3 separate regions of the Homo sapiens genome follow, and regions 1 and 3 are each linked to region 2. Evidence: promoter capture Hi-C in 16 types of primary human blood cells and fetal thymus (Javierre and others, 2016). All regions are on one chromosome and are shown on one strand. The core of a region is centred on a gene start or on the middle of the fragment in contact, and the rest is flanking DNA. Distances in the headings are between cores, read along the strand shown. Region 1 has its middle 91 kb from the start of LINC02404. Region 2 holds the start of CLLU1 (chronic lymphocytic leukemia up-regulated 1). Region 3 has its middle 50 kb from the start of LINC02404.

Region 1 (4,463 bases), core at 1,197-3,696, 640 kb before region 2:
AAAATTGAAACTGGACCCCTCCTTATACCATGTACAAAAATCAACTTAAGATGTATTAAAGACTTAAATGTAAACCCAAAACTATAAAAACCCTAGAACCTACACAATACCATTCAGGACACAGGCATGGGCATATATTTTATGATGAAGGTACCAAAAGCAATTGCAACAAAAGCAAAAATTGATAAATGGAATCTAATTAAACTAAAGAGCTTCTGCACAGCAAAAGAAACTATCATCAAAATGAATAGACAACCTATAGAATAGGAGAAAAATTTTGCAATCTATCCATCTGAAAAGATCTAATATCCAGAGTCTACAAAGAGCTTAAACAAATCAACAGGCAAAAAAAACAAAAACAACCCCATTATAGAGTGGGCAAATGACATGAACGCTTCTCAAAAGAAGATATACATGCAGCCAACAAACATGAAAAAAAGCTCAACATTACTGATCATTAGAGAAATTCAAGTCAAAACCATAAGTGAGATACCATCTCATGCCAGTTAAAATAGCTATTGTTAAAAAGACAAAAAAAGACAGATGTTCATGAGGTTGTGGAGAAGAACACTTTTCTACTGTTGGTGGGAGTGTAAATTAGTTCAACCATTGTGGAAGACAGTGTGGTGATTCCTCAAAGACATAGAGGCAGAAATATTGTTTGACCCAGCAATCCCATTACTGGGTATATACCCAAAGGAATACAAATCATTATACTATAAAGATACATGCATGCATATGTTCATTGAGCACTATTCACAATAGCAAAGGCATGGAATCCACCTAAATGCCCATCAGTGACAGGCTGGATAAAGAAACTGTGGTACATACACACCATGGAATACTATGTAGCCATAAAAAGGAACGAGACCATGCTCTTTGCAGGGACATTGATGGAGCTGGAAGCCATTATTCTCAGCAAACTAATGCAGGAACAGAAAACAAAAGACTGCATGTTCTCACGTATAATTGGGAGCTGAATGATGAGAACATATGGATGCATGATGGGGAACAACACACACTGGAGCCTGCTGGGGACGGGGGGAGGGAGAGCATCCAGAATAGGTTATGGATGCTGGGCTTAATACCTAGGTGATGAGATGATTTGTGTGGCAAACCACCATGGCACACTTTTACCTATGCAGCAAACCTGCACATCCTGCACATGTACCCCTGAACTTAGAGTAAAAGTTAAAGAAAAATAAAAGAAGCTTCTTTAATCTGGCTTTGAGTTGGAAACTAGAAACCATTAATTTTTAAAAAGCTACATATTTTTAGAAATTGAAAGAGAAGAAAGTCTTTTTCTTCTAGCAAGAATATTTAAACCCTGATACATGCTAAGGAGATGTTCTTGTCCCTGTTGCTCTCAATATGATTGTTATGAGCTTTCAACACATTCATGCCTTTATTCTAATACAGATCCAAATAGAAGGCACTTTGCAGATCAATAAGTAATTATCATACACAGAATTTATTTGTACCATCCCCATAACTTAGCTGTCTACAGTCTGTCAACTGCATTTGGGCAGAATTTAGAATTTGAATGAACATAATTTGCAAATAGCTTGTCATGACCCACAAAAGGTTTTCTGAGATGGGAAAGCTCTCTTTTTACCATCCCAATGACAGCAGAAACTGGAATTATCTAGAAGGTAAACAAAAATTTAGCTCAACGATCTCCATCTCCACAACTACTGTATATTGATTTTCTGTCAAGAAGATGTACAACTCTTGGAGCATGCTCCCTGTATTCTTATTTATTTTTATATTTATTTACTCATTCATTTATTTTGTGGTGGGGTAGCCATGGCTACCAAGTTGAATAAGTTTCTTAAGCATTAGAATATATATCAAAGCCTTGAAATGTGTACCTAATACAGGAGAAGATACTCCTTTAGAAATGAAAAATTAAAAGCATTATTTCTGGGAGTAGATGGAGCTAGATAGTTCCTGCCTGCTGTTAACATTGTACACGGGTAAATATTCATATCAACAAATCAATTGAAATACGAGAGTTTAGAATTAGTAAGGATTCCATGGTGGGTAAGCCATATTACAGGCACAGTCCAGTGGAAATATACCAAAAAATTATATAATGTCACTGATGTGGTTTGGCTCTCTGTCCCCACCCAAACTTCATCTCGAATTGTAATTCTCACCTGTCAAGGGAGGGACCTGTAATCCCCATGTGTCAAGGGAGAAAGGTGGTTGGATCATGGGGGCAGTTTCCACCATGCTGCTCTCGTGATAGTGAGTTCTCACGAGATCTGATGGTTTTATAAGTGTTTGGAAGTTCCTCCTTCGTTCCTCTCTCTTCTGTTGCCTTGTGAAGAAGGTGCCTGCTTCCCCTTCCACCATGATTGTAAGTTTCCTGAGTCCTTCCCAGCCATGCTGAACTGTAACTCAATTAAAGCTCTTTCCTTTATAAATTACCCAGCCCCAGGGAAGTTCTTTATAGCAGTGTGAAAATGGACTAATACAGCCACCTAAATTCCATTTGATATCTCCTCATACCATTTTTTTTCTTCAAGTTCACGAAAGAGATAGAGACAGAGAGAGATGGTCACAGCTCCAAGTTCCTAGGGACAATAGCAAGGAAATAATGTATTAAATTTTAAAAGAATAGTAAAACAGTCATTTAATTCAGGAGCTCTAAGCATTGCAGATTTGCAGTGCCTATTTATATAGTAAAGGCTCTACCTGTGGAGTTGACACAGATTTTCTAAATTTATTTAACTATTTTTCATATCATGTATTAACTTCCCATTAATACACGAAAAGTAGGCCTGAGTAGCTACCCATTAATACATTTTACTAAAAATAAGAGGACAACTGGATGAAAGACAGACTCTCTCTACTATCTATGCAAATCTTCTGTACATCTAAAATTATTCCCCAAAAATATTGTAAAAAAATGAGAAAAGAGAGAAAAGGAAAAGCAGAGGCAGAATATGAAGAGGAAAAAAAGCAAGGGAGAAGATGAAGAAAAAGCAAAGGTGTGGTTTTTATGGACCAAGAGACAGCGGAACTTCATTCACTAATGGTACAATCATTATGTCTACATTTGTGTATTTGATGGTCTGTAGCAATCAGTTTTAGTATTGCGGTATAGTGTTAATTAGGGCATACGCACCTCCAAGCCAATTAAATTTGGTTTATTAATGCATAATTCAGTATTGTTATGTATAGCAGAACACATGAAAAGATTTTAAAATTCTATTTTCTGATGTGGCCTGAATTATTTCAAGGAAACACCCTCTGTCAAGTGAGTGAAAATGAATAATTATGGGAGTCCTAAAAGCCCACAGTTGGGCGGACTAGACGGCTGCTATGATTAAGCACCTCAGATTGAAAGTATGGATTCTATCATTACAAGAGCAAAGACAGTGCTGTGATAATTGTGAAAACACTGTAGCTTCCATTTTTGCTAATGTTTTTGGTAGAATATTTAAAGTCACAGAAGGTGAAGATAGAGAGCTCAATTTCTGTATCCTGTTACTTATTTAGATGAATGAGGTTTTCTACCAATTGTAGTCACAACAGAGCTTGCAATCCCTGTGACATTATGATAAGAAAGTGCCGATTTGAGCAAGAAATTAAATGATAATAAACATAGTGTAGACTCAGTGGGGGTGATATTGTTTAATGTCAGTAGTGATTGAAACTACCTTCTAGATGACTGAAGCTTTGTTGGCCTCGTCTGTTTATATCAATTTCTTCTTTTCAAAGGCCATTATCCTAAATTGCATGTTATATAACTTGTGCTGCCTCCCTCCAGCCCACAGCACCACTTCTAAAGCAACTTGATGATGCATATTGTAGAAAAAAATAATCTTTCCTGGGCTCAGCATCCAAGGAGATTACAATCTTGAGACTGTAATGGGAATGGATTAAACTTTGCACAATTTCCTTTTGTCACGTGAATTGAATCCCGTTGTGCTATTTTCTATACTCCTTTCAATCTTTGTCATGAAAATGATCCATGCAAGTGTTAGCACTGCTTAAGCAACCCTGGCCTGGTTTTAACCCAGTCAGAATCTTACAGTTTGATTGGCTCTTATTTTTCCCTCCCTGAGAAAACAAAGCCAGAAGACTGGGACAAACCCACCTAACAAATGACAGAACATGAAAAAGGTCATTGTCCTCTGGTTCAGGCAGGCTTAATAAGGACATTTAATGATCTTCATGTAGATCTCATGCAAAAAAAAAAAAAATTGAAGGGGCAGGGGAAATGTTCCAACATAAATCCAATCTTGTGACAGCAATTGCACACCTCTGCAAGAGGGAAAATGAAACAGTACAAAGGTCCTTCATTCTCAATGCAGCTACAGGTTTTCAGATTTCAATCACAGACCCTTTCTCAGATGTCAGACTTCGCATGTTTTCATTACCTCCTAGGTTAAGATGGAGTCATTCAAATCTTGGTGGTGTTCACAGACTTTAATGTTGCCTTGAATTGACCA
Region 2 (4,426 bases), core at 1,409-3,908:
CTCTCCCTGTCACCCAGACTGGAGTGCAATGGCACAGTCGTAGCTTGCTGCAGCCTCGAACTCCTGGACCTCCTCAGCCTCCTGAGTAGCTGGGACTACAGGTGCACACCACCATGCCTTCCTAATCTGATATATATATATATATATATTATATATATAAAATATATATATAAATATATATATTTTATATATTATATATATAATATATATATTTTATATATAAAATATATATATTATATATATATATTATATATAAAATATATATATTATATATATATATATATATTATAGAGATGGGGTCTTGCTCTGTCACCCAGGCTGAAGATCAGCTGCTCTTTCTAATCTGTGGTTAGATAAGATCTGTCTCCCAGGGGATAAAATACTACCTGGAATAAAGGTATCTTTAAAATAATCCCAGAGAAGAAAACATTTTTATAGTATGACAGAGGCAGAGAAAACAGAGAATATTTGTTAAGGCAGGACTTTCACCACTCCCAGTACAATCATCTGTCTGTTACCTGCATACCTTACACGGGCTGGCACTGCTGGGGGTACAAAGTAGATGCCAAACTTCACAATGGTTAGATTCATGTTTAAAAAGCCATTGGATCAAACCTTTGTGAAAGTTTCCAGCTTTTTTCTGTTCCAAATATGTGTCCATTATAAAAGAATCTCAAGAGCATAATTGCCAAGATAGTCTATGTCCATGAGTATTTCAACATCTCTCATGAAATCTGTTCCCATCATTACTCAAGATATTGTATGAACAGTATTCCACATAAACTAGGTGCTCAATAATGATTGATTGGCCAATGGAGGGTCATTATTTAATGCACTACAATCTTTTATGCAAGGGGCCCACAGGAATCAGTATGATCCCATAGGAATCCTTTTCTTTTCCATTGAAAAAGAAACAGATAGTGGCTTGTATTAGGTTTCTTGTGTGTGTTGTGAGGTGGAAAGATATGAAAAGAAATTTGATCAGAGCATAAATCTGAGCCCATGGGATAGGAAAGAATGAGGGAATAAGGAAGAAAACACAGATTATAGACAGGAAAATCAAACCTATTAAAACTGATAATTTTCGAATACTAAAAATGTACATTCATTTGAACAAAAAGATTCTATAAAGCAAGATTTCTCTGTTCTTACCAGCACTACCATGCCCAAACTACCTTAGGAAATGAATAGCAGAGTCAAACTTAAAAGCACCTGAAATTTAAAACAAAAACCAATTTACATTTTATTTAAGAAAAGCAAACAGATGGGCCTGCTAACAATGTCAAAGTCTCGTTTACAAAGAAAAAAACAAATCTGGAACCTGAAGTCAAACGAGTTCAAAATAAAAAGCAAACCAATAAACAGAAACCAACATAAACAGAAGTTACTACCATCTCCCTCAGCCTGTGAAATTCTGGAACTTCTCTTTCTTTCTCGCCTTCTTCTTCTCTCACCTGGAAGACGAGCAGAGTGAACACATCAGGGGTTGTCAGTTCCCCAGATGGCACCACATTCATAAACCACCGACTCCAGGAGAATGTAGGAAGCTTAGTTAAGGCCAAAGTTCTCTTTGGATCTTCCTCATGGGCTTCAAGGCAAAAGAAAAAAAAGTTTGCTTGAGAATATCTTCATATCTATTAGTTTGAACCATGCAAAATTACAGTTTTTATAGGTAAAATGAGTGCATATTGGCAATTTCAAATGATTAACCCTAATACATTATGCTTTTGGGTATAGAAATATTCAGATCTTAAACATATGCTGTTACATACAAAATCAGGTATATTCCTGCTTCTATAATTAAAGCAAAGAGAATTTCTTTTGGTCACTACTCCTTCTGACATGAGGTATGAACCAAGTTCAGGACCCCTAAAGGTCTGGGTCTGGGTCATTTCTCCACCTCTAACTTGTGCCGCTTTCTTGGTCAGTCATTGTGTTCTGAGCTGTCTCATAAAACATCTGCTATGACTTTACTTTCTCCTGATAGGGTGGCTTTCCATCGTTGGCACTTCGTTGGCCTTATTGGTATGCTTTATACACTGGTTCTCGTTTCCAAATTGGCATTATTATTGTTATGATTCCTGCTGCTCTCCCACATTTCCCATCTTTCTCCTGATCTCTCTCACCTGTACATTTCTTACATTTTCTCCTGTGCTTCCTTCTTCCCATCATCATTGCCCAAGTGTGTCTTCTTTCTTCTCCTTGTCACATTTCCTTTGCCCGCTCTCACATATGCAGAGATGGCTCTTGGTTTTCCTTCTGAAATCTCATAGTTTGGAGGTAAACTTGTTAGCAAGGCCACTGAGAAGAGAACAAAAGGGAAACATAAGAGAAACCAAGTCACTATCTCTCTCATTTCCTGGTTTCTAGAAGTAAGACCCAAAGAACTCACTGTTTCAGTGCTTTCAGCTCAGGCCAAACTAGGGTGATCAAACTGAGCTTCTGAGTGCTGATCAAAACCTATAAAACCAAGTAGACAGACCATCTACAAATCTTCACTGTTAAATACCATAAAGAATGAAAAGGTCACTAATTGGTAAGACTATATGTGTGATAATTAAATTTATGCATCAACCTGGCTAGGCTAAAGGATGACCAGGTAGCTGGTAAAACATTATTCTGGGTGTGTCCATAAGAGTGTTTTCGGAAGAGATCAGCATTTGAATTGGTGAACTTAGTAAAGCAGACGGCTCTCACCAATAAGGGCAGGCATCATCCAATCTGTCGAAAGCTTGAATAAAACAAAAAGAGGAAGGGAAAATTTGCTTCTTTTCTTCTTGATCTAGTATATCATCTTCTCCTGCCCTTGGATGTGAGTGGGCCTTCAGACTTAAACCAGGAGTTACACCTTTGGCTTCCCTGGTTCTCAGTTCTTTGGACTTGGACTGAATTACACTGCCAGGTTTCCTGGTTCTCCAGCTTGCAGATGGCAGATCATGGGACTTCTTGGCCTCCATAATTGTGTGAGTCAATTTCCATTTTATTTACATATCCAGTTATGCATTGCTTAACAATGGAGACAGGTTCTGAGAAATGCATTGTTAAGTGATTTCATCATTGTGCAAACATCATAGAGTGTAACTACACAAACCTGGACAGCATAGACTACTACACATCTAGGCTACATGGTGTAGCTTGTAACCTCATGATAAGTATGTATAACATCATGATAAGTATGTATGTATCTACCATATCTAAATGTAGAAAAGGTACAGTAAAAATATGGTATAATCTTATGGGATCACCATCATATATGCAATCCTTTGTAGACTGAAATGTCATTGTGTAGTGCATGACTGTATACGCACACATACACAAACACACACAAATATACTATTGGTTCTTTTTCTCTGAAGAGCCCTAATACAATATGTTATACATTTATATTGACTCTATTTCAAAATTTATGGTTTTGGTGAAACATATGTGGAGATGGGGCATAGGTGTGTGAACTGGGATAGTGTCCTGCTGATGAATGGGTGGGAGGCATCATTTGGGACAAGCCCAGGGCATCAGCTTATAGATATCAAGAGCTCAACAAGAGCACTTTATGGCAAAACCTCCCACAAGACCTCTCAGAAGTTGAGAAACTGCTAAAAGTTTCTTTATGACAGATGACATTTATGGATAAAATAGGGATTAGCAGGATTCTTTAAATACTTTCGAACACTAACCTTCATTTCTACCAGGCAGTGGGGCCCCAAGTGCAGGGCCATAGGAAGTACAAGTCTGGGAGATACTAGGCTGCACTGTCTGTAGAGAATCTGAAAAAATAATAGAGTCACTGAAATGCAGTTTGGTATAATTATTGCCATGCATCATAATTCTAAATCATACTAGTGGTCAAATACTCTTCCCTGAAAAAACATTTTCTTGGTTTGAATTCTAAATAATTGTTGTGGTCACCACTGAGCTTTTAAATATATAAATACTTTCAAGTTTGCATATTTTTATTACCTGTTCCTTAACAAACATTGAATTCAACATGAAAATGATTATGGGAAACATTCGGGTATACAGTCCCTGACTCTTAAGGACTCAGGTAAATACTTAGGGTATTTCATGGCCCTAGTCTTTGGGGTACCACATGTTTCTTCTTCAAATCACAGATTCAAAATCAAGAATGATAACACAGTGATTGTGTAGACAAAATAAGTGAACCAAAATTGCTTGCTTCTGTCATTCTATGGAACCACTGAGAGTTTTTACTTGTGCTTAAAATTTTGAATAGTAAAACAGAGTGTCAACTTCATGCTGGAATATTTTTGGCTTTTTAGACACAATTTTAAGTACATGAAGTATTTTTACAAGACTAAGTAACATCACTGAAATTACAGCTTTCTTCTTTTTAAAACTGGTATTTGTTATAAAACTAAAGAGCGAATCAAGAAAAGCATAATTATTACTGATTATTACAGGATTATTA
Region 3 (4,761 bases), core at 808-3,307, 600 kb before region 2:
AAAACAAAGAGACTTTCTTTTCATAATTAGAATTTGTTCTTATTTTTGGCAAAAAATTAGAGATAGATTTGTTTTTGGAACTCAAATGTCATTCGCTATGTACCAATCAGCACCGAATTGTATGGTTGCTTTTCAGAAGAAAACATAGTTCATATTCCAGTTGCAAATACCATCTCCTCACAGATGAACTTAAAGTCAGTTTGAACAATAAATAATCTTTTGATTTATTACACCTTTCATTTTATGATTTCTAATAGCTGCACAAAAATAAGTCGACCTGTGTTATTTAGTTGAATATCTTGTTTCTTCATTTTCACCAGTGTAGGCTTTTGTGATTATTTCTAGTGTAAGTACACATTGTCATCCATAGATAGAAATTAACTGTTTTGTAAATTAATTCTCACAAAATAGTTATAGTATACACTTTTATTTAAAGTGTCCACTATTAATGTGCAACTTGCTTTAAGTCATCTTTAATGTAAACTGTAAGCTTTCTTCAATAGATGCAAAAGATATCCACAATAGTGCCACAGTGGTAGATGATTTGAACAGGAATGAAGAGAAACAGAATGGAATGTAAGTTGCTAGTCACAGTGACTAGTGGAGATTCAGCAATGGGGTGGTGCCCAGTGGTCACTATCCAAACCACTTTCAGTAAAATCACATCCAAAGAATCAAACAACATGCCTGACAAATGGTCTGTGGGAAGGGATGCAGCAGGTACTCAGTGAATTCTGACTTTGAGTTAGATTATATATCCCTTAGCTTTCCACTTTCTAGGGTAAAATAGCACTCTGGCAGGTTTTAACCAATCAACCAACAAATGTGTATTGAGTATCTACAATGTACCTGGTATTTTGAGGGAAACAGACAAACACATCTTATTCTCAAAGAACTCACAATTTATATGAAAAAGCATGATTTTAAGTATATAGTTAATCATTTTAACTTTTAAAACAATTTTGTGCATTCCTTTTCTTTTTTCTTATCTTGTCATTCAACAAACATGCTTTTTACATATTCAATACAGAAAATACAAGAAGTCCCATAGGGGACAAAAATATAAGTGATATAATTTCTCTCTCCTTAAAAAAGTTTAATGTCTACTAGGGAAGGTAAATATAGTCATACAGGTAACCACGATGATAGCACTGAATTTGGGGTTAGATAAAGTGTGCTGATACATTTAAAATGCTTAGTGTTTGACACATAGAAAAATTCATGAATTATTTATTATTATTATCTTGTTAGTATTATAGCTGAGTCTGCACAGATGTGTAGGGATTTGTCAAATGGAGAAGAGAAAGAAGGGTATGACTTCTTCTACATATACATTAACCTCCTTAACTCTGTGTGTTTACAGCCTCCTCCTTTCTCCTAAACTTCAGATCTACATTCTCAGCTTTTTATGGACTCTCTCCTTGGATGACAGCATGCAGGCTATAGTTTAAGGGGAGGCAAGAGAGGGATTAGGCAATTAACAGCACATACAAAGAGAAGACCCAGGATGCTTGAAAATTCCCTAAATGTCAAGGATAATAGAAGACAGAAAAATCAAAGAAGAAAACAGAGCAAAGGCGTTCAGGGATAGTAAAATATCACAGATGCCAGAGTGAAGGCAGAGGGTTAGGGCAGAATGGAGGCATTTATACAGTCAGATGGCTTCCTACATATAAAGGAATGAGCTTTTTCCTCCCTACTTTGAAGTATATCCAAACATAAGTTTGATATTTTCTGAAAATCTCTGCAGCTCAAACATGTACAATAATAAAGTATCTTTTTACCCCAATCTCTTCTAAACCTAGGACATTTAATCATTTGTGGAACTTGTGGGATTATTTTAGATACACTTCTCATCAGCACCAGCAGCCATTGTGCAGTGATTTAAATTTTGCAAAGAAAATCAACAGCTGGTGAGGGCATTGCTGCTTATATTGCAAAGCTGTGCCATCTGTTTATGCAGTGCAATTTGCAAGATTTCTTAGATGACATATTTCATGATCATTTCATATGTGGAGCTCATGTTAAATCCTTCTAGTAGTGTCCTTGGAGGAATCAAAATTGGCATTTATTATGGCTTTAAAAAGGACCCCATCCAATAAGAGATATTGCTGTATATCACTGAAATTAAAAGAACAATACTGCACATAAATATCCACAATATACAGGCAGAATTCTTGATGCTGAGAGCTGTTAGCATAAAATCACATAACCAGGGACATTTCAGATTCATGGTCTCCAATCTCAGTTGTTGCCAGGCTACATTTCTCTTGACTCCTCCTCCCTCACCCTTAGTTATGGATGTTATATTCTATTTGATTAAAATGAGACCATAGAACAAAAGTTCCTTCCACCTTTATCTCCTAGTGCTTTGAGTACATTTTAATCACCACATTCTCCCAGAATCTCCTCCTGTCTTTGTGAAAGGGGATTTTCTCTTTCTACTCCAAGTTCTTTCACCTGTGAATTCCAATTTCTCTTTTGAGACTTTATTTCGTCAGGTACTCTGTCTTTTCTCCCCCAGTCCTCTTCTTCTTTTTTTCTTTTGCTTCCTCTCTCTCTCCTTAGGATTCTGTCTCTCACACACACTCTTCTTTTCTTTTCTTTCTCTCTTCTGGATCTTTTCTTAAAATTTATGTACATGTTTGAGTATATATGCATAGTTCAATAAAGAAATGCCTTTCAAGGACACCATATTCCCCTCTACCTCTACTTTTTTACTGTCGAGCTTCTTAAAAAATTTCCTGCTACGTGCTATCTGTACTTCATAATAAGCAATTTACTCCTCACCGTGCTGTGATCTGCCTTTTGTTCTCTAGTTCCACTGCAACTGTTCTTGCAAAGGTCACTAAGGACTTTTGTATTTCCAAAGACAATGGATAAATCTCAGTTCTTATCTGACATGACTGCAGCAGTTGCCCATCTGATTATTCTCTCTCCATTCTGAAAACATCTGCCCTCTTTGTATCTATGAAACATCACACCTCTTGGTGCTGTGTAACTTCATAGAGGTCAGGCCCTCTTGGGTTGAATTTGGCTTGATTTTCTTCTCCCTGCCTTAGTTAGACTAGTACACTGACTCTAGACTGGATTCAACAACTCGTTAATTCTGTTTTGTGCTTCCACCCAGAGCTGTCAATCTATTCAGTGTTCTTCAACCCCAATTATTATGATCTGAACTCCTTTTACCAAAGGCATATAAACAATGCAGGCCAGACACTTTGCTAGGGAGAGATATAAAAAAGAACATGAGAATTTCTCTGTGTTCTGCAAATGGTGATGTGGAATTAAGTATTCTCTATAAGTAATTTAGATGTGCTACTTGTTTGGTTCTCCATTCAAAGTCAGTAGTGGGAAAATGATGATTAATTTGGTGCATTGGGTGGGGAGGAGAGTGGCTAATAACACGTGGTTTGTTATTGTTGGTATACAGGTTTCAAAGCAAGGCATAGTGAGAGGTGAAGATGGACAGGTAGAAAGTCTAACCGTGAAGAGCCTTGTATGTTATGACAGTGTGTTCTATTCATTAAAGGCAAAGAAAAACTATGGAAGTTGTAAAAAGACATATGGTATATGTCATACTCAGAGGTTTTAAATCATTAGTTCTGAGATTCAGTTCAGAGAAAAGCTTTCCCATGCTTCTAAAGAAAATCACCATTTGAGAATCATTATGCTAAGAAGTTTGGATTCGAGGGGAAATTATATAACTAGATAATTGACATAATTAAAAACTCATGATGCAACGTGGCCGCTTCTTTCCACATAGTTTCTATCTCCACTCTCTACAGGTTGCCACCATCAAATAGAGACTCTTTCATTTCCCTTCAACTGGATTTACAACCTATCTTACCTGGATCCATCCTTTTCTATTTCCCCTCATGTAGCTATAGAATCAGTGTCCCTTTCCTAAGACTCATCCCTCTGCCTGTGTGTGCATGCCATTCCTTCTCCCTCCTTCAGAGACCTCTTTTCTTTGGTAATAACTTCTTATGCATGGTTCTTCAAATTATCTCTCATTTTTCTATTAGATCTTTCTTATCGGCATTCAAAGGCCTAGCAACCCTAGTAACCTTTAAAAACAAACAAAAGTTCCATGACCTGATAACTCTCTTCAGTTACCATCCTTTCTCTTGCCTATCTTTCCCAGCCAAATGCCTGGAAAAGATGCCTACTTCCTGTCTCCTATTAACTCTCTTACTACTTCCATTCTGACTTCTCTTATTTTGCTACTACAACTTCTCTTGCTAAGCTCACAATGACCAATCTATGACTAAGCATAGCAGATACTTCTTAGACAGTTTGGACATCTCAGAAGTATTCAACATAACTTACCATGATTCTCTCTTTGAAAGAAACTCTTTATTTTTGGCATATATGATTCCACCTTTTGCTAGTTTTCCTCTTACTTCTTTAGTCTCTCCTTGTCAAGAAGCTCTTTTGGTTCATCCTTCCCTACTTAACCTCTATTTGTTAGAATTCCCGATAGCTCCACCCTGGACACTCTTTCTTCTCATTCTTTATTGTAAATTCAGACTTATATATATAACTGCAATCTCAAACCTAACTCTTCTTGCTCATCTTTTCAGCATGCTTCTTTACCCACTTTGCTTCATGATGCAAAAGCCAGGATATTTTAAAAGCCCCAACGCCACTTTATTTACCAGTTGATGTCTATTTTAATACCTAAATGTGTCTTAAATATATCCACTTCCCTGTGATACCACAGTCACCTTACAGTCTAAGCTAACATCTTGTCTTGGC

The links. The method cuts DNA at HindIII sites, captures the fragments that hold promoters and counts their contacts. A CHiCAGO score of 5 or more calls a contact.
Region 1: a contact is called between a fragment that was not itself captured here and the fragment with the promoter of CLLU1 in region 2, in 1 of 17 cell types (neutrophils). The highest score is 5.3, in neutrophils.
Region 3: a contact is called between a fragment that was not itself captured here and the fragment with the promoter of CLLU1 in region 2, in 1 of 17 cell types (neutrophils). The highest score is 5.1, in neutrophils.

Annotation. Positions count from the first base shown.
Region 1 is chr12:91,782,510-91,786,972 of GRCh38, forward strand. No RefSeq gene overlaps it. Among named protein-coding and RNA genes, the nearest start is that of LINC02404, 91 kb to the right of the region's middle. The HindIII fragment of the contact is 2,474 bases long and covers 1,210-3,683 here.
Region 2 is chr12:92,418,873-92,423,298 of GRCh38, forward strand. It overlaps CLLU1 (chronic lymphocytic leukemia up-regulated 1), which reads left to right and starts at 2,659. Exons shown (of 2, transcript NR_027933.1): 1 at 2,659-2,963. CLLU1-AS1 (CLLU1 antisense RNA 1) reads right to left here. Exons shown (of 3, transcript NR_144319.2): 2 at 2,142-2,301; 3 at 1,214-1,588. The HindIII fragment of the contact is 1,184 bases long and covers 1,546-2,729 here.
Region 3 is chr12:91,823,256-91,828,016 of GRCh38, forward strand. No RefSeq gene overlaps it. Among named protein-coding and RNA genes, the nearest start is that of LINC02404, 50 kb to the right of the region's middle. The HindIII fragment of the contact is 3,138 bases long and covers 489-3,626 here.